7 separate regions of the Homo sapiens genome follow, and regions 2, 3, 4, 5, 6 and 7 are each linked to region 1. The links are contacts of gene promoters, found by promoter capture Hi-C in human tissues and cell types (Jung and others, 2019). All regions are on one chromosome and are shown on one strand. Each heading gives the region's core, a stretch centred on a gene start or on the middle of the fragment in contact. The rest is flanking DNA. Distances are from core to core; before and after follow the strand shown.

The links. Contacts are between HindIII fragments. The study calls those that stand out against the background at their distance.
Region 2: a contact is called between a fragment that was not itself captured here and the fragment with the promoter of LSM7 in region 1, in 4 of the 25 tissues and cell types used here (dorsolateral prefrontal cortex, lymphoblastoid cells, mesenchymal stem cells and 1 more).
Region 3: the fragment with the promoter of ADAT3 here is called in contact with the fragment with the promoter of LSM7 in region 1 in 3 of the 25 tissues and cell types used here (dorsolateral prefrontal cortex, psoas muscle and spleen).
Region 4: the fragment with the promoter of SLC39A3 here is called in contact with the fragment with the promoter of LSM7 in region 1 in 4 of the 25 tissues and cell types used here (dorsolateral prefrontal cortex, lymphoblastoid cells, mesendoderm cells and 1 more).
Region 5: a contact is called between the fragment with the promoter of DIRAS1 here and the fragment with the promoter of LSM7 in region 1, in 1 of the 25 tissues and cell types used here (lymphoblastoid cells).
Region 6: the fragment with the promoter of GNG7 here is called in contact with the fragment with the promoter of LSM7 in region 1 in 2 of the 25 tissues and cell types used here (dorsolateral prefrontal cortex and mesenchymal stem cells).
Region 7: a fragment that was not itself captured here is called in contact with the fragment with the promoter of LSM7 in region 1 in 1 of the 25 tissues and cell types used here (IMR-90 fibroblasts).

Annotation. Positions count from the first base shown.
Region 1 is chr19:2,327,284-2,329,897 of GRCh38, forward strand. It overlaps LSM7 (LSM7 homolog, U6 small nuclear RNA and mRNA degradation associated), which reads right to left and starts at 1,303. Exons shown (of 4, transcript NM_016199.3): 1 at 1,278-1,303; 2 at 1,104-1,194. The coding sequence starts at 1,283. It overlaps SPPL2B (signal peptide peptidase like 2B), which reads left to right and starts at 1,401. Exons shown (of 15, transcript NM_152988.3): 1 at 1,401-1,492. The coding sequence starts at 1,427. RefSeq lists silencers at 308-407, 1,428-1,687 and enhancers at 678-737, 1,018-1,672, 1,108-1,157, 1,168-1,217. The HindIII fragment of the contact is 22,122 bases long and covers 1-2,614 here.
Region 2 is chr19:2,756,118-2,758,731 of GRCh38, forward strand. SGTA (small glutamine rich tetratricopeptide repeat co-chaperone alpha) reads right to left here. Exons shown (of 12, transcript NM_003021.4): 10 at 1,576-1,665; 11 at 1,220-1,340. The coding sequence ends at 1,226. Among named protein-coding and RNA genes, the nearest start is that of SLC39A3, 17 kb to the left of the region's middle. The HindIII fragment of the contact is 7,304 bases long and covers 1-2,614 here.
Region 3 is chr19:1,904,080-1,906,693 of GRCh38, forward strand. ADAT3 (adenosine deaminase tRNA specific 3) reads left to right here and starts at 1,320. Exons shown (of 2, transcript NM_138422.4): 1 at 1,320-1,360. SCAMP4 (secretory carrier membrane protein 4) reads left to right here and starts at 1,320. Exons shown (of 7, transcript NM_079834.4): 1 at 1,320-1,360. RefSeq lists enhancers at 314-373, 654-713, 1,734-1,823 and silencers at 1,044-1,373, 1,424-1,573. The HindIII fragment of the contact is 31,876 bases long and covers 1-2,614 here.
Region 4 is chr19:2,738,687-2,741,300 of GRCh38, forward strand. SLC39A3 (solute carrier family 39 member 3) reads right to left here and starts at 1,331. Exons shown (of 3, transcript NM_144564.5): 1 at 1,259-1,331. RefSeq lists silencers at 427-694, 1,103-1,502 and enhancers at 813-862, 1,563-1,612. The HindIII fragment of the contact is 11,347 bases long and covers 1-2,614 here.
Region 5 is chr19:2,720,070-2,722,683 of GRCh38, forward strand. DIRAS1 (DIRAS family GTPase 1) reads right to left here and starts at 1,303. Exons shown (of 2, transcript NM_145173.4): 1 at 1,235-1,303. The HindIII fragment of the contact is 24,571 bases long and covers 1-2,614 here.
Region 6 is chr19:2,701,385-2,703,998 of GRCh38, forward strand. It overlaps GNG7 (G protein subunit gamma 7), which reads right to left and starts at 1,310. Exons shown (of 5, transcript NM_052847.3): 1 at 1,262-1,310. RefSeq lists a silencer at 1,206-1,595. The HindIII fragment of the contact is 6,266 bases long and covers 1-2,614 here.
Region 7 is chr19:2,664,569-2,667,182 of GRCh38, forward strand. The region is part of intron 1 of GNG7 (G protein subunit gamma 7); the gene reads right to left. Among named protein-coding and RNA genes, the nearest start is that of MIR7850, 35 kb to the left of the region's middle. The HindIII fragment of the contact is 9,228 bases long and covers 1-2,614 here.

The sequences.
Region 1 (2,614 bases), core at 53-2,552:
GGAGTCTTGCCCTATCGCCAGGCTGGAGTGCGGTGGCACAATCTCGCCTCTGGGGTTCAAGCAATTCTCCTGCCTCAGCCCCCCGAGTAGCTGGGACTACAAGCGTGCGCCACCATGCCCAGCTAACTTTTTGTATTTTAGTAGAGACAGGGTTTCACCACGTAGGCCAGGATGGTCTTGATCTCCTGACCTCCTGATCTGCCTGCCTCGGCCTCCCAAAGTGTCAAGATTAAAGGCATGAGCCACTGTGCCTGGCCTCCTTTTTCTCTTTTGAGACTGGGCCTTGCTCTGTGGCCCAGGCTGGAGTGCAGTGGTGCGGTCATAGCTCACTGCAGCCTCAAACCCTAGGGTGAAGCCACCCTCCTGCTTCAGACTCCCAAATTGCTGGGATTACACACGTGAGCCGCCCCGTCCGGCTGGGGCACTGTGATTTTTAATAACTCTCATGCCACCCAGTTGTCTACAATCCAGGGACAAAGAGGTTTGGGTCCCCGTCTTACAAAAAAAAGAAACCAAAGATCCAAGAGGCTATTGAATAAGTGACGTGTTGTCTGACTGCTTACTTCCTGCTGAGAGCTGCCTCAATTACATTACATGCCTGTAACCATTCATTCTCACCACCCCCTGTGAAGTGGGTGGAGTTACCAGCCCCATTTGACAAATGAGGAAACGGAGGCTAGGAGAAGGCAGCTCACTTGCCCAGTCAAAAATGCTAGGCTGGGCATGGTGGCTCATGCCTGAAATCCCAGCAATTTAGGGGGCTGAGGCAGGCAGATCGCTTGAGGCCAGGAGTTTGAGACCATCCTGGCCAACATGGCCTCTCTACTAAAAATACAAATATTAGCCGGGCGTGGTGGTACACATTAATTCCAGCTACTCGGGAGGCTGAGGCACAAGAATCACTTGAACCTGGGAGGCGGAGGTTGCAGTGAGCTGAGATCGCACCACTGCACTCCAGCCCGGGTGACAGAGCGAGACTGCGTCTCAAAAAAAATAATGAAAATAAATAAAAGAGGTGCTTCCGCATGCGTCCTCATCATCTCTGTTGCTGGGTTTATTTGAAATTTTTAAAGAGGGGGTACCGACAGCGGGAGCCTCCTCACCTTCGCGGCCTCCCTGGAACTTTACCCGGATCGTCTTGTCGATGTACTTGGACAAGTCCAAGATGCTCTCCTTTTTCTTCTTCTCCTTATCCTGCGGGGAAAGCAGAGCGCATGAGACCTGGAGCGCGGCCCGAGCTCCACGCCCCCCGGCTCCAGATTCCGCCGCGCGCTCACCGCCATCTTGTCGCGCCGTGTGGCTCTTCGCAGGCACCGCCCCGCGCCCTTTGACCTCCCCCACGCGCATGCGCGGCGCATGCGTGGCCCGGGGTCTCGGGGCGTTGCTGGGAAACATCTGCCGTTGGTTGCGGCGGGCACCGGCCGACATGGCGGCAGCGGTGGCGGCTGCGCTGGCGCGGCTTTTGGCGGCCTTTCTGCTCCTCGCGGCCCAGGTGAGCGCGGCACCGGTCCCGACGGCACCGCGGGCTGCGGCCCTTCGGCCTCTCTGTCCCCGGGCTACGCGCAGGAACGACCCCGCTCGGCCCGTCTTGGGGGTCCAGCCTCGGGGATCCGCCGTCCCCGCGTTGTCGGCCGGCGGTGCCGGGGCTCGGCCGTGACCTTGCGGGTCTGTCCCCGGCTCCTCTCCTTTCCCCGCCTCGGAGGCCCTCCGCCGCTGCAGCGCCACTCACTTCCCACCGGGTCTGAAATTTGTGCCCCCTCCATCCTCCGGTTCTGCTTCTCCGTTTCGGGGTCTCCAGTTGCCGCCGGGGACGCCTCTCTCCGGCTCTGTGGCCTTGAGCAGGCGGCTGCCCACCCCTCTCCGAGCCTCAGTTTCCCCTTAGGCGGAACGGGCACGGTGCTAAGCTAACCTCACCCTAGGGGGTGCGGTGGGGGAACCCAGAGGCGTCCCGCGCGTCCCCCAGTAACTGGCAGCATCCTGGAGCGGCCAGGAGTCCAGCCCTGCACTGGGGTCGGATCCCCGCTCCATCTTTTACTCCGTGACCTTGGACGATGGAATTCGTGTGCAGAAGGAGGACCGACTATGGTGTGGATTCTGGAGGTTCTGTCCAGGGTGACCAGCGCCCAGGGCCAACAGGCCTTCATTATGTTCATTGTGTGTCATTTGATGTAAAGAGTGTCAGGTTCTAGTGGGGACAGTCTACGAGATCGCACTGTCATAACTGCATCTTTTATTTTCTTAATTCCAAATCTTCCCTCTCTCCTGAGTTCGGTGGCTCAGGCAATGGAACCTGGAGCAGCCCCACAAATGCAGCCCTTAACCTTCACTACCCCCTCAGAGTTCTCACTCTTAAGGCGTCGCCGCCACCTGGCTCCTCAGTCTCCACTCCTCCAGCCCCACCGCTATCCCTCTGCTGTGGCTGCCTTTGTCCACCACATCCCCAGTCCATCCTCGACACAGCAGGGGTGACCCTTTCAAAGTATGTCAGACCGTGTCGCATCCAGATGAGTGCGCCGTCCAGTTGTGACCTGGCTGCTGGGGAAGCCTGCAGCTCATTGCAGTCGCTTCACTCTCTAGTCTTTTCTCTTACCCTGAGATGCCCCTGGTCTCTGCA
Region 2 (2,614 bases), core at 59-2,558, 430 kb after region 1:
GCGCAGAGAACATCGCCATGACCTAGAAGGGTCTACAGTATGGTGGTACTTTGTGTATGAGGTTACGGTGGTAAAAAATCCACCTCAACTATTAAAAAAAGAAAAGGAAAAATAAATAAAAGCTTATTTAAAAAAAAAAGGGAAGACTGGAAGAAAAGGCGGCCAAAATATTAATGTTGGTGGCTCTGGGTGAGAAGATTAAGGTTGGGCTGAATGCACGGCTCACACTTTGGGAGGCCGAGGCGGGAGGATCGCTTGAGCCCAGGAGGTTGAGGCTGCAGTGAGACGTGACTGCACCACTGCCCTCCAGCCGGGGGGACAGAGCAGGACGGTCTCAAAAAAAAAAAAAAAAGATTAAGATTGTTCTTGCTGCTTTTTAACATTTTTGTATTTTAAATTTGTCTACAGTAATTATGGTTTAAAAATGAAAGAGAGTGTATATGAGGAGGGGACAACGACAAAATGAAGAGGCCACATGGGAGCAGAATGGAAACACCTCTGGGGAGGCCCGGAGCCTCCCGCCCCCAGGGAGCCGGCGTCTGCTGGAGACAGACAGGACTGAACTCAGGGGAGCCTCCCACCCCTGGGAAGCCGGTGTCTGCTGGAGACGGACAGGACTGAACTCAGGGGCCCCTGGGGAAGGAAACCAAGCCAGCCACGGGCCCCTGGAACCCATGGGGGACACTGAGTGTATTTTTAAACAACTGTAAGTGCAACACCTGCTCACAGTGAGAAAAGGACAAAAAATCCCTCACAAAATGCAGGCAGAACGCTCGGGCGCAGTCAAAGGCAGGTACCCGGCTTGTCCTTTCCACCACTCGATGACCTCGCCCCCACCCCCGAGGTGGCAGCCCCGACACTGCAGAAACAAAGAGCTTCTGCAGGCGGCCTTAGGCAGGGGGGACCCCAGACACCAGCCCTTCCAGGGAGCTGTGGCTCTCCCCTAATCTCCACCCAGCGCCGATCCACAGATGGGAAAGGAGTGGGGAGCAGGACTTGGTGGCCACCTGGAAAGGGGCCCAATGCCCAGAGATGCCCCCACCTGCCTGGGCGGTTCAGGGTGATCTTCTGAGCTGGATGCACCCAGGACTCGCTGTCCAGTGTCCAGACAGGCTCCACAGCCCCCGGGCGTCACTCCTGCTGGCTGCCCTCACTGCCAGGCACTCACGTGGTGTCACTCCTGCTGGCCACCCCCCAGCCCCCGGCCCCATGCACTCACGCAGCGTCACTCCTGCTGGTCGTCGTTGCTGGCGCTGGGCGTCCGACTCCGGATCTGGCTCCTGAGCTGCTCTATCAACTCTGGGTTCTGCTGCTGCATCTGCTGGGCAAACTGCTGGCCCCTGCGGGGAAGGGCACATGGGGCTCAGCCAGGGCCAGGAGGCTGCCTGCTGCCTCCGTCCATCCCCAGCTGACCCCTCGGGCCCTCCACCCCAAAGACAGGCCTGACCCCTCGCTGGAGGACGCTGGGCCCTTCGGAGCAGGGGACGCAGCACTTTCGCTCTCCTCCTTCCCTTCCGCCTGCGAGCCCTGCCCGCCGCCCACGTCCTCCGTCCTCTTGGAAGCAGTTCCACTCACGCCTGGATGAGGCTGGCCAGGTCGTTCTGCGAGGGGCTGGTGCCGGGAGTTCCCAAGGGGTTGTTGCCACCCGAAATCATGCCGGACATGCTGCAGGAGAGAGCGCGTGACTCGCAGCCGGGACAGCCTGACCGCCACCCCCACTGCAGGCCCTCGCAGTGGCCCGGGAGAGAATCCCTCTCAGCCCTTCACCTTCCCCTGCAGGAGAGGATTCTCTCTCACCACCTGGTGGGCCTCCAGGGCCCAAACCCACCCTGTGACTTTCACCTGCTTTCCCAGAACACCCCTCTTTCTTTGGCCTAAAGAGCGTAGTTCTCAGCCAGGGGGTGATCCTGCCCCCAGAGGACCCCTGCAATGGCAGCGGACATTTGCAACAGCCATGATTGGGTTACGCCAAGACAGGGGCAGGGGGTGCTCCTGGCATGGAGTGGATGGAGGCTAGAGACAGTGCTCAGCACCCTGCAGTGCCCAGGACGGCCCTGCTCCAGAAACTGGTCCAGCTCAAATGGCCACGGTGCTGTGGCTGGGAAACCATGCTTTAAGATTTGACCGTGGGCCAGCCGCGGTGGCTCACACCTGTCATCCCTGCACTTTGGGAGGCTGAGGCGGGTGGATCACCTGAGGTCAGGAGTTCAAGACCAGCCTGGCCAACATGGTGAAACCCCATCTCTACTAAAAATGCAAAAATCAGCCGGGCATGGTGGTGGATGCCTGTAATTCCAGCTACTTGGGAAGACCCACTTGATCCCGGGAGGCAGAGGTTGCAGTGAGCCAAGATTCTGCCACTGCACTCCAGCCTGGGTGACAGAGCAAGATTCTGTCTCAAAAAAAAAAAAAGGAGAAAGAAAAAAAGATTTCACCATGAAAACAGGTGAGCAGCTCCCCAGTGCGCACAGCGCTTACTGGGGAGTGACCCTATGAGCCAGCGAGTGCACTCAGAAGTTTATATCCAAGAGAAACGAAAACAGGATTCACACAGACGATTGCACACCCGTGCTCAAGCAGCACCGTTCACAACAGACAAAAGGTAGAAACAGCC
Region 3 (2,614 bases), core at 70-2,569, 420 kb before region 1:
CAACATGGAGAAACCCCATCTCTATTAAAAATACAAAATTAGCCAGGTGTGGTGGCGTGTGCCTGTAATCCCAGCTACTCGGGAGGCTGAGGCAGGAGAATCACTTGAATCTGGGAGGTGGAGGTTGCGGTGAGCTGAGATCGTGCTGCTGCACTCCAGCCTCGGTGACAAGAGCGAGACTGTCTCGAAAAAAAAGAAAAAAGAAAGAACGTTTTAGAGCTAATCTGGAGACAGGCCAAGCACGGAGACCCACCTGCAAAATCCCAGAGATTTCCTCAAGGTGGTCTGCAACCCGGCCCTTATTAGGATGAGGCCAGCCTGCGCTTTTAAGCCACCAAAATTCATGAACACACAGAGCTTATAATCAGCACCTCCCCTGCACACCCACCATTCCCAGTTCCCCTTTTTTAGCCCCTCACCCCAGCCTCAAGTTTGAAGGGGTTTCTGGAGGCCTAAACCAGCTGCCTCCCTGCTGCGAACTCTGAAAGGAAGTCACCTTCCTTTCACTGCACTTTTTCCTCCTTACTGGTTTGTCAAGACTCTGGCATCGGAGCCTGAGCTGGTTACAGCCAGGCACTGTCAAGCTGTTGGGGGAGGGGATGACAAATTCCCTCCCGTTGAGAACCACTTGGTTAAACCTGTCCAACTGGAAGGAGTAACAAATTGCTCATAAAATATGCATGTTTTGGTGAAACCCCTTCTCTACTAAAAGTACAAAAACTAGCCAGAAATCGCTTGAACCCAGGAGGTGGAGGTTGCAGTGAGCCTAGCACTGCACTCCAGCCTGGGTGACAGACTGAGGCTACGTCTCAAAAAAAAAAAAAAAAATGTGCTTGTTTGGCCCAGGAGAGGCAAGAGGTCTTCTTCACCTACGTTACTGGTGAGAAAACTCAAACCTGAGGGCGGCCCACGCCGGAGTGCAGTAACAGGCAGAACTGGAACCTGGCCCCATCCCGGACTCAGGGGACGGGTGTCATATACCCCCTCTGCCTCATCCTTCCCACTCTGCTAACCTTCCAAAGATCCCCCGGGTTCCGAGTTTTCCCTGGCCGCTTGATGGGATTCGAACCTGCAAACTCAGCGCTCGCCCAGCGCAGCGGCCCCGCCTCTCCTCCCCTCCCGCCGCCCGGAGGTCATGTGAGCGCAGTGCCGGAGCGGGGCGGGGCGAGGCGGCGGCGCGCAGTGCCTACTAGCAATTGTAGTCCTTGCCCCACCTTGGCCTGGCGAAGATCCCGCCCCTGGAACTACGCTCCCGTCGTGCTCCGCGGCTCCAGGCGGAGACGAGGCGGGGTGAGGTGGGTTGGGCCGGGCCGGTTGCTAAGACTTGGCGAAGCGCTGCGCTCGCGCCCGGATCCCTCAGGTAAGCGCGCGGCCCCGAGGTCTCGGGTTCTCCAGGCTCAGACTTCCCCAGAGGGGGAGTAGGGGCTGACATGGGGGGTCTCGGCGGTGAGGGGCGCCGGCCGTTTGTGGGGAGAAAACGGGGGGCCCAGGCCAGCCTCGCGCGCGTCTCGGGCGGGCCGGTGGGCGACGCGGGGAGGCGGCGCGAATGCGCGTGCGCGCGCGCGCGCGGCGCTGGCCTGGGGGAAGCCTCAGGACCGCGCTCCCCCGGGCCTAGCGCCTTTCTGCGCGTGTGCGCCCTTATGGTCGGTGCGGGAGACCCCGTATCCTCCAGCTGCTTCCGGTGGCCCTTCCTCAGGTCATGTCCCGCAGTCCCCTGCCTCTGAACCGCGCTCTCGCGAGTTTCCGTAGCCTTCGCGTCCTTCCTCCCCAGCTCTGATTCGCCTTTATGTGGAGATTCCCCTAGGCCTTGGTACATCCCCAGAATTGACCATCGTTCCTCATCGTTACCTAGAGTATGAGTTTTTCAGGTTTTTGTATCACAGGCCCCCAGTTATCTCCCACACACTACCCCGAGGACCGAGGTTCCCCGCTGTCTTGCAGAGAAGGCCTCCTTGTAGGGTGGCCAGAAACAGAGGATCGACTCCGTGGAAACAAGGACGGCTGGGTGCAGTTCCTCACCCTATAACCCCAGCACTTTGGGAGGCCAAGGCGAGTGGATCACCTGAGGTCCGGAGTTCGAGACCAGCCTGTCTAACATGGTGAAACTCCATCTCTGCCAAAAATACAAAAATTAGCTGGGCGTGGTGTCACGCGCCTGTAAAACCAGCTACTGGGGAGGCCAAGGCAGGAGAATCGCTTGGACTTGGGAGGTGGAGGTTGCAGTGAGCCAAGATGGCACCATTGTACTCCAGGCTGAGCAAGCTAGCAAGACTCACTCTCCAAAAAAAAGAAAAAAAGATTTTTTTTTAATAAGCCAGGCATGGTGACACATGTCTGTGGTCCCAGCTACTTGGGAGGCTGAGGCAGGAGGATTGCTTGAGCCCCGGAGGTTGAGGCTGCAGTGAACTGTGATGGCACTACTGCATTCCAGCCTGGGCAACAGAGCGAGACCCTGTCTCTAAATAAATAAATAAAATACATACGTGTAGCGCCGGCCGTGGTGGCTCACGCCTGTAATCCTAGCACTTTGGGAGGCCAAGGCGGGTGGATCACGAGATCAGGAGATCAAGACCATCCTGGCTAACACGGTGAAACCCTGTCTCTACTAAAAATA
Region 4 (2,614 bases), core at 81-2,580, 410 kb after region 1:
ATCACCTGAGGTCGAGAGTTCGAGACCAGCACCTGAGGTCGAGAGTTCAAGACCAGCCTGGCCAACACAGTGAAACACTGTCTCTACTAAAAATACAAAAATTAGCTGGGTGTGGTAGTGGGCACCTGTAATCCCAGCTACTTGGGAGGCTGAGGCAGGAGAATCACTTGAACCCAGGAGGTGGAGGTTGCAGTGAGCCAAGATCAAGCCATTGCACTCCAGCCTGGGTGACAGAGTAAGACTCTGTCTCAAAAAAAAAAAAAATTAGCTGGGCATGGTGGTACGTGCCTGTAATCCCAGTTACTCGGGAGGCTGAGGCAGGAGAATTGCTTCAACCCAGGAGGTGGAGCTTGCAGTGAGCCGAGATCGCGCCATTGTACTCCAGCCTGGGCTGCAGAGCAAGACTCCGTCTCAAAAAAAAAAAAAAAAAAAAAAAAAGGGCCTCCCTCTCTGCCCCTGGCTGACTCCTGCCCTAAACCATATCCCTGTACCCGCCGGAAGGCCTGCTGCAGAACAGATACTCAAAAACCGCTGGCTGAACACATGGACGAGGGGAAGCGTGTGGCCACTGATAAGGGCCGCATTTTACCTGATGCAATGGGCCAAAGTGAAGTCGGTTTCACCCTGGACCCCAAAATGTCACCGTTCTTAGGAGGAATCTCAGCTCCTCCCCTGTCCTTGAGTTTTCCCCAACTGGGTTTTCTCCCCCACCATCAGCCCCAAGCGCCTCATGGCCCCGCTACCTCACTGCATTCAGGTCTTCGGGTCACTGCTCAGATGTCTCCACTCAGAGCTCTCCCCGCCCCCTTCCCTGGTGTTATTTTCTTTTATTTTGTGCTACAGAGGGAGCTAGGAATTACATTATTTTAAGTCATTTAAAGTCGTCCCTCCCCCCCGGCGGTGAGCTGGGCGGGACCAGGCTGTCTGTCTTGCTCAGGGCCAGCTGCACCCAGCGCAGAGCCACCCAGGCACACAGTAGGCGCCCAATAAAGACCTGTCCGGCATCTGGATACCTCAGTCTGTACAGTGAAGGTGAGGGTGGCCTGCACGCTCTCAAACCGGAGGCTGCTCGGGCCGGGATGAGGAGGGCACGGGCTCATTCATTCAATCAGCACTTATTGAGCGCCTTCTGTGTGCCTCGCGCTACCGGGCACCGGAGACGGGCCTCGGCTAACGTGCGGGTAGAGTCCAACAGACCCCCGGCCGCTCAGCGCCGCCCCGCCCCGCCGCCCCAGGTCCTCTCTCTGCCCGCACCTACCTCCCGGGGGCCCCTCGTCCGCCGACTGGCGCCGCTGCACGCCCAACGGCCGCGCAGTCTCGACCCCACAGACGCGGCCCGGAGAGGCCCCGCTCGGCGCGGCTGGTCCACGCCCCGCCCACGCCCCTGCCCATTGGCCTCCCCGAGACCCGCTGGCAGAACTTTCCATACTATTGGCTGCGAAACCTGCCACTCATATGCGACTCCACCTCTCCTACCGGCACAGGAAAGGGGTTTCCTCCCGCTGAGCGGCGGGCGCAGCCACCAAGCGGCCCCGGCGGGAAACCCGGATTGGCGAGGAACGGTTCCGGCAGGGTTGGGTTTCCAGAGCTGTCCAGGGGCGCCTGGTGCTGAATCCCGCTTGGAAAGAGGCTTGGAGGTGGATGGGAAGGGATTTCCAACGGAGGCGGCTCCTCTCTCAGCGTCCTCGCTGCTGATCCCCTTACCGACGGCTGAAGAAGCAGATTCATCCCTTCAACAAATCTCTGTTGATAGGCAGGAGGAGTAAGTCCAAGAGATCGACTGTACATCATGGTGGCTACAGCTCGTAACAATGCATTGCATACTGCAAAATTGCTAAGAAAGTAGATGTTACATGTTCAAACCATGAAAAAATAAGTATAGGAGGTAACGCGTAAGTTAAAAACCAAATCTTGGCAGGGCGCAGTGGCTCACACTTGTAATCTCAGCACTTTAAGAGACCGAGGCGGGAGGATCGCTTGAGTCCAGGAGTTCAAGGCCAGCCTGGGCAGCATAGTGAGACCCCATCTCTAAAAAAAAAAAAAAGGTTTTTTTTGAGACAGAGTCTCGCTCTTGTCACTCAGGCTGGAGTGCAATGGCGCGATCTTGGCTCACTGCAACTTCCGACTCCCGTGTTCAAGCGATTCTCCTGCCTCAGCCTCCCGAGTAGCTGGGATTATAGGCGTGTGCCACTATGCCGGCTAATTTTTGTGTTTTTAGTAGAGACGGGGTTTCACCATGTTGGCCAGGCTGGTCTTGAACTCCTGACCTCAGGTGATCCTCTTACCTTGGCCTCCCAAAGTGCTGGGATTACAGGCATGAGCCACTGCGCTTGGCCTGATGACTTGATTCTAACAAATAGAAAATGGCAAATGAATGGGATGTCATTCTGCGATTAGGCTATGAGAGATTGTGACTTCTGTTTTGCCAGCAGAGCCTGTCTCTCGCCTTCTCAGCCTACGTGTCTTGACAAAGCAAGCTAAGATGCTGGAGAGATCCAGAGGGAAAGGAACTGAGGGTGTCCTCCAGCCAACAGTCAGCAAGGCAATGAGACCCTCAGCACAAGCGTCCATAAGGAACCAAATGCTACCAACAGCCATGAACGTGATCATGGAA
Region 5 (2,614 bases), core at 53-2,552, 390 kb after region 1:
GCTGCCGGGTTTGTGGACTACATGCATAGTAATTTCTCGGCATTCGGAGGAGGCTGGGGGTGCTGGTGGTGGGGGGGAGGCGGCCTGTGCTGCAGACCCTGCCCTTTCCTGGGTGGGCGCCCTGAGAGGCGGGCACGCTGCTGTGCAGAAAGACGCCACCAAGACCGGCCTGGGGTCCTAATGGCCATGGGTTCTGTGGACCCAGATCCAGCCTTTGCCTTGCTGCGGGCACTGAAGCTCCAGCCCCCATGAGCAGTACTGTCCTCCCCGCTGGGTCTGGAATCCCTGACCAGAAAGGCGCTTGCACTCAACAGCCCCGAAGCCCACGCCACTTCCCACCTCCACCGCCTGGGGGGTGCGGGTGGAGGGAGGGGGTCGTGGGCACCGAGGCAGGAGCAGGAGGGGCTGGCTCAAGGTCACAGAGCAGGGGGGTGGAGGCGCACAGCGGGGCTGGAAGCCCACCCTGCTTGGCTAGACTCCTGGGGTTTCCCGCCTGTGCGGGGCAGCCCACCCCCAGACGTCCAGGCAGGGCCAATCTACCCCAGCCCTGGGTCCCTGAAGCCCGGCTCCCGGCCGGGCACGGCGTGGTTGGTGGGGGCGGGGGTGTCAAAGCAAAGCTCAGGGTCAGGAAAGCAGAGAGAGCCGCGACCCAGGGGTCTAGCGGGGGTCACGCCTGACCAAGGGTGGGGCGGGGGTCTGACCCAGGGCCGCCTGGCCGGTGAGGGGTTTGATGGAGAAAGGGCCTGCTCTAGGGGGCCCGAGGGCGCAGAGGCACAGTGCGGGGCCAGCCCAGGGGCGACCCTTGACTCAGGAGGACCTCAGTGGTGGAGAGGAGGAGCCCACCCCGGGGAGGGGGCGCGGAGGGAGGGGCTTGGCTGGGCAGCGGGGCGGAGGGCGAAGAAGGCGGCTGCAGGAGGGAGGAGGCCCTGCCCGAGGGGACCAATGCGGAGAGGGGCGGCGGGGTGGGCCTCGGTGGGGCGGGCTCGGCAGGGGGGCGCCCTCCGGGTGGGGGAGGGGAGGCGGCCGGGAGCTGTCCAAGGTGAGCGCGGAGGGGCCGGCCGGGCCCGGCGGGAAGGGACGGGGGACGCCCGGCGAGGGGCCCCGGAGCCACGCGGGGAAGGGCCCGGCCCCAAGGCCCGGGAGGCTGGGGCCGGGACAAAGGAGGGACGCGCGGCGGGGAGGACGGCCGGCTGGGGGCTGCGCAGGGACCCCCTCCCCGCCCCGGGCCGCCTACCTGGGCCCGCTGGTCCCTGCGGCGCCGCGGCCGCTGCTCCTGCCCGCTCCGGTGTCCGCTGGCGCCGCCGCCCCCCGCCCGCCCGAGCCGCCGCAGTCGCGCCCGCGCCGTCCCCGCCCGCCGGGCCCCGCGCTCCGCCCCGCCCCGCCCCGCCCCGCCCCGCCCCGGGGACCCGCGCCCACGGGGCCGGCGCGCCGCCCGGCCAAGGTCACCGCCGCCCCACGCGGGACCCCTGCCCGCGCCCGGGGTGGGAGAGGTCGCCAGGATCCGGGACCCCCGCCCTGCCACGTAGCCACCTGCGCGCGCCCTCCCTCGGGGTGGGAGCTGGGGCCGCTTCCCGGGGAACCCCGAGTGGGGGCCAGGAGCCCGGCTTGGGAGGAGCAGAGTCCAGCCGGGGGTGGAGGGCTTTGGCAGAAATGCGGATAAAGGGGGTGCAGAACGGGACCCCTGAGGCCGGCTGGGGCCCGGTCACACGCAGGGCGGGGAATCAGAGGGGTGCGTTGTGAAATGAGTAAGTCGATAATCAACAATCAATGAACAGGTTTAGAAGCGGGCAGAGGCGGGAGGGTTCAGGTCAATGGGGTGCACCTGGAGGCCCACCCATCCCAGGGGCCTGGGCAGGGGCGGGATGGGGGCAGAAGCGGACTCAGCGCTCTGTAGGGCTGGTTTTGTGGAGGCGGAGGCAGCCCATGGCAGTCAGGCCTAGGGAGGTGGGGGGTGAGCAAAGGGGGCTGGCGCTGCTCTGCAGCGGATGGGTTTGCCGTTTTCGGTTAGGAAAATGTTTGTGTTCCCCCAACAGGAGGTGTCTTAGGGGAGCACTGGCTTTTCTGATGCGTCTGTGTGTCCACAAGAGACCATGGTTCCGCCTCCATTTTGGAGACCGGGAGGCCGAGGTTCCTTTTGGCCTCATCGGGCAGATCCCAGAGGAGACTGGACTTTGGGGTCTAGTGACCAGGCCAGAAGGTGCTCTCAGGGGTGGGTGCGGGACAGTCCCAGGCCGCAAGGCTGTCAGAGGAAGGCGCCCCTTGGTGGAGAGGCCAACTCTGGGACCCACAGGGGTCTCTCCAGAGTCAGAGCCATCAGTGGGTGAGAGGCTGGTCTGGAAGGTGGTGAGCTCCCCATCACCAGGCCTGTGAGCAGGTGAACCCCTTGGGCCCTCAGCTCCTGGGGTTCTCCATGACCCACCATTTCCATGGCCCTGGATGAGGTGGGCCCATCTGCCTCTGCGGAGACTTGGCACTGCCTCCAAGACCACTCAGTCCCCTCTCCTGTTGCCACTGAGGCTGGGGCACTGAGGTTCAAGCGGCTTTGGGGCTCAAGGAGCTCTATTTCTCCCTGATTTGACCCCACTCCCCCTCCTGGCCTCCAGACCCCTTCCTC
Region 6 (2,614 bases), core at 60-2,559, 370 kb after region 1:
CTCCCTTCTCACTAACTCACCCCAACTTCCTTCTCCCTGAACCCCCTTCCACCCCACACACTCACAAGCTCCCCATTTCCCCTGATAGCCCCCAGACCCTTTCTGGAACAAGCCTGACCCCCACCTGTATGCTCCAGCCACTCCCTGGCTCACCCCAGCTTTGTCCTTCTGCCCCTTTTCAGCTAACCCTAACCCCTGGGCCGTCAATCACACCCCCCCATCTTCACCAACCCCATTCCTCAGTCCTCTCCCCAGACAACCTCAACATCTAATTCCCTCTGCAGCCCCCTCTCCAATGAACCCCACTTCAAACTCCATCCCCAGCCCCCTCTCCAGCTCCCTGCAAACCTCAACCCCACTCCCAGCTCCCTCTTCAAAGAAGCTGCACCCTTGACTCAACCCCTGTTCCCCGCTCCAATTAACCTCAACCCCCAACACCATCCCCAGCGTCCTCCCCAGCTAACTCAGATTTCCAATTCCACTTCCAGCCCCCTCCCCAGCTAACCTCGACCTACAATTCCAGCCCCCTCCCCAGCTAGCTTGGACCTCCAATCCCACTCCAAGCCCCCTCGGCAGCTAACCTCGACCTGCGACTCTAGCCCCCTCCCCAGCAAACTCAAGACCTCCAATTCCACCACCAGCCCCTTCCTAGCTAACCTGGACCTGCAATTCCAGACCCCTCCCCAGCCAACTCAGACCTCCAATCCCGCTCCAAGCTCCCTCCCCAGCTAACCTCGACCTGCAACTCCAGTCCCCTCCCCAGATAACTCAGACCTCCAGTCTCACCCCCAGCCCCCTCCTCAGCTAACTCAGACCTCCAATCCCACCTCCAGCCCCCTCCCCAGCTAACCTGGACCTGCAACTCCAGCCTCCTCCCCAGCTGGCCCTGATTTCTAAGTGGAGTCCCAATGCCCAGACCCAATCCTTCCCCAGCTAACCTCGATCTGCACCCCCTGCCCCGTCCCCAGCTAACCTCGACCTGCAACTCCCGCCCCCTCCCCAGCTAGCCCTGAGCCCCAAGTGCAGTCCCAATCCCCAACCCCAGCCCCTCCCCAGCTAACTTCGACCCCCTAAGCGCAGCCCCGTCCCCAATTCCAACCCCAGCCTCCAGTTGCAGCCCGGGTCCCCAGACCCAGCCCCCCTCCTCAGCCGACTCCGACCCCCAACTCGGTCCGCAGCCGAATCCGAGCTGTCCCAGTCCCCTCTCCGGGACGCCGGCCGCGCCCTCACTTCCCCTGGCCCGGTTCGCGGGCGCCCTTACCTGCGCTCGGGCCCCGCGGCCGCCTCAGCCCCGCCGCGCAGCCGAACCCTCCGCCCCGGCCCGCGAGCGCTCGCTCCCCTCTGCGGGGGCGGGGCCGACACTCGGGGGGCGGGCCCTGGCGTCCCGGCAAGGCCAATCGCGAGCCCCGGCTGCGGGAGGCCGGAGCGGGGGCGGGGCGCGGGGCAGGCAGCGGGGTAGGCTGCGCCCAGGAGAGTGGGGCGGGGCTCCGGGCGCGGGCGGGGCCGGGGGCGGGGCGAAGAGCGGCTTTCCAGGGTGACTTCGTGACGTCAGGAAGGCGCGAGTAGTTTCGCGAGTTCGAATCCCGCGCTAGGTGAGCTGGTTCGAATCCTGCATGCCAGCTCCGGGGGCTCATTTGCTGGGGAAGAATGTCAGTGATCATAACTGCTGCACCGCTTTCTTGAAGACTTTATAGGCTCCCTCTCGTGGGACCCTCCGCATAAGGCCAGAAGGCGAGATTACTATCCACATTTTACAGAGGTGGAAACTGGGTCTCAGAAAGGTGAAACCTAAGGTCATTTGCCCAAGCCTGTCTCATCATTTCCAAGATTTCTCAGTTTCCTAACTCATGGCCCTGGATCCACAAATTCCTGAGCCCCAACACAGATGGAATGAACCAGAATCCTATAGGGAACTGGACCCTGAAATCTGTGTTTTGTTTAGTTTTCGTTTTGTTTTTGAGACAGGGTATCACTCAATTGCCGTGGCTGGACTGCAGTGGTGCAGTCATAGCTCACTGCAGCTTTGAAGTCCCAGGCTCAAGCAGTCCTTCCACCTCAGCCTTCCGGGTAGCTGGGGCCACAGGCACGCACCACCACATCCAGCTAATTTTTGTATTATTAGTAGAGACAGGGTTTCACCGTTTTGGCCAGGCTGGTCTCCAACTCCTGACCTCAGGTGATCCACCTTTCTTGGCCTCCCATAGTGCTGGGATTACAGGCGTGAGCCACCGTGCCTGGCCCTGGCTAATTTTTTTTTGTTAGAGATGGGGTCTTGCTATGTTGCCCAAACTGGTCTTGAACTCCTGGGCTCAAGTGATTCTCCTGCCTCTGCCTCCCAAAATGCTTGGATTACAGGCCTGGAATCTTCATTTTCCACAAGCTCCCTTGGGAATATTGGAAAACACTTTGTATGTCTCCAAAAGCAGTACACAGCCCTGGAAGGAAGATGGAGCCACCATATTCTGTGACCTCAGGGATTTCATCAGGCGCTGACACTGTGTGTCCTTGCCGCCCCACCTGAGCCCTGGGATTGGAGCTGCTGGCCAAAATCCAAGATAAACTTCCCCAGGGTTCCTGTCATCCCTGCAAGAACCTCCCTGCTCATCCTCTGGAC
Region 7 (2,614 bases), core at 54-2,553, 340 kb after region 1:
GGGGAAGGAACAATCAGACGGTTGGCTCTGTGTCCTGCACCCTCAGTGCTCTAGAGACCCTCCTCACCCAGTCCTCTAGGTCACTCTGGGAGGATGGCCCCGGCTGACACCGTCTGCCCCATCGGGAATCTATTCTGGTGTCTACTGTGAGCAGGGAGCAAACTCATTTTTTTGCCAGTTAATGCAAGGTCTCTCCCCTGGAAACCGTGGACATTCAGAGCTGGGTCATTCTCTAGGGTGCAGCTGTCCCGGACACTGCAGGGTGCTGAGCAGTGTCCCTGGCCTCCACCCACTCCACGCCACGACCATCCTCAAGTTGTGACAACGACAAATGTCCTCAGACAACACCCAGTGTCCCCTGGGGCAGAATCACCCTCAGTTGACACCCCCTGAATTAGGAAATTCCACGGACCCCCAAGATACTCTGTCCCCTGATCTTCTGTCCTGCTGAGGTCCCAGGAGGCTGCACACATTGAAATCCACACCTTTAGTTGGGGGGAGGGAGAGAGGAGGTGAATCCCACGAGCTGGGGTCCCCTGGTTTACACCGTCTGCCCCATCAGGAGTGTGTCCTGGTGAGCAGGAAGCAGACTCCATTTCTTCTCCAAATAATGAATGCTGAGTCTCTCCTCCCAGGCACGGTGGACACTGGGGCTGTACCATTCTCTGGGATGGAGCCGTCCTGAGCACTGCAGCACGCTGAGCGGCATCCGTGACCTCCAGCCACTGCATGCCCGGAGCACTTCTCAATGGTGACAGCCACAAATGTCCCCAGACATGGCCCAGTGTCCCCTGGGGGGGGGGGGGCAGGATCACCCTGCCGTGCTGGACAGTCCTCGCCACACCCCACCTCTTGGAACTGGAATGTCTGGTGAGACGGGCAACAAGGATTTGGGAAGAGGGCCATGCGGGACAAAAAAAAGAAAGAAAATGAGAACGAACGGATTTCTATTTCCCCTCAATGTGAAAATAGCTCCACTGAGTCCCGAGGAAGGATTGGGTGGGGACGTACGCTCTGGTATGGCCAAGGTGGAGTGCTGGACAAGAGCTACTCCATTCTGACTTCACGACTCGCTGTCTGGCTGGGTGACCTTCAGTCCCTTGCCACTGTCGCTGTGCCTCAGTTTCCCACTCTGTAGAATGCACATCGAAGCAGCATCCACCCTGTGAGACTGGTTTTGGAGATTACATAAATGAGTATCTATAAAATGTTTAAAGTGGTGTCTGAGCCATGGGTCATGGCACATACTGGCTTTATTATTTAGAACCTGGATTACCTCCTTTTATTATTCTTTTTCAATTTATTTTACTTATTTTTTGAGATGGAGTCTTGCTCTGTCATCCAGGCTAGAGTGCAGTGGTGCGAACTTGGCTCACTGCCTCTGCCTCCCGGGTTCAAGTGATTCTCCTGCCTCAGTCCCCCATATAGCCAGTATTAGAGGCGCCCGCCACCACGCCCAGCTAATTTTTGTATTTTTAGTAGAGACAGGGTTTCACCATGTTGGTCAGGCTGGTCTCGAACTCCTGACCTCAGGTGATCTGCCTGCTTCAGCCTCCCAAAGTGCCACCGTGCCCGGCTTATGTTTTAATTTTTATTGTATTTATTTATTCATTTTTATTTTGAGACAGAGTCTTGCTCTTGTCGCCCAGGCTGGAGTGCAGTGGCACGATCTCAGCTCACTGCAAACTCAGCCTCCCGGGTTCAAGGGATTCTCCTGCCTCAGCCTCCCGAGTAGCTGGGATTACAGGCACCTGCCAACATGCCCGGCTAATTTCTGTATTTTTAGTAGAGATGGGGTTTCGCCATGTCGGCCAGGCTGGTCTTAAACTCTTGACCTCAGGTGATCTGCCCACCTCAGCCTCCCAACGTCCTGGGATTACATAGGTGTGAGCCACCATGCCTGCTTTTTTAGTTTTTACTTTTCATAGAGATAGGATCTTGCTATGTTGCCCAGACTGGCCTTGAACTCCTGGGCTCAAGCGATCCTCCCTGCTCAGCCTCCCCAAGTGCTGGGATTACAAGTGTGAGCCACCTTGCCTGGCCAGATTACCTCCTTTCTGGACTAGACCAGAGCACAGCAAAGTGTTTCTGTCTAGGGCAGGATGTAAAAATTTTCAGCCTTACGGAACATATGTTCTCTGTTGCAGCTACACAGTTCTGCTGTTGTATTTTGAAAGCAGCCATAGACTATGCATAAATAAATGGGCATGGCCCATCGTGTGCCAATAAAACTTTATTTATAGTAACAGGTGGCCTGGATTTGCCCCCAAGGCCATTGGTTGAGACCCTCGCAAAACAGTCTAAGACAAAATAGCACCATTTCAGCAACTAAATACTCTCATCTAGGCAGTGTTCCAGTCTTCCATCCTGAAATTAGATGAGGGTCCTGTCAAAAAAGATTCACCTCCGATCCTCAACATCACACGGCAGAGTTAGCACAGAGCATCCCTTCACACAAAACACACACTCATCCGGGCGCGGTGGCTCACGCCTGTAATCCCAGCACTTTGGGAGGCTGAGGCGGGTGGATCACTTGAGGTCAGGAGTTCGAGACCAGCCTGGCTAACATGGTGAAACCCAACCCGTCTCTATTAAAAATACAAAAATCAGCCGG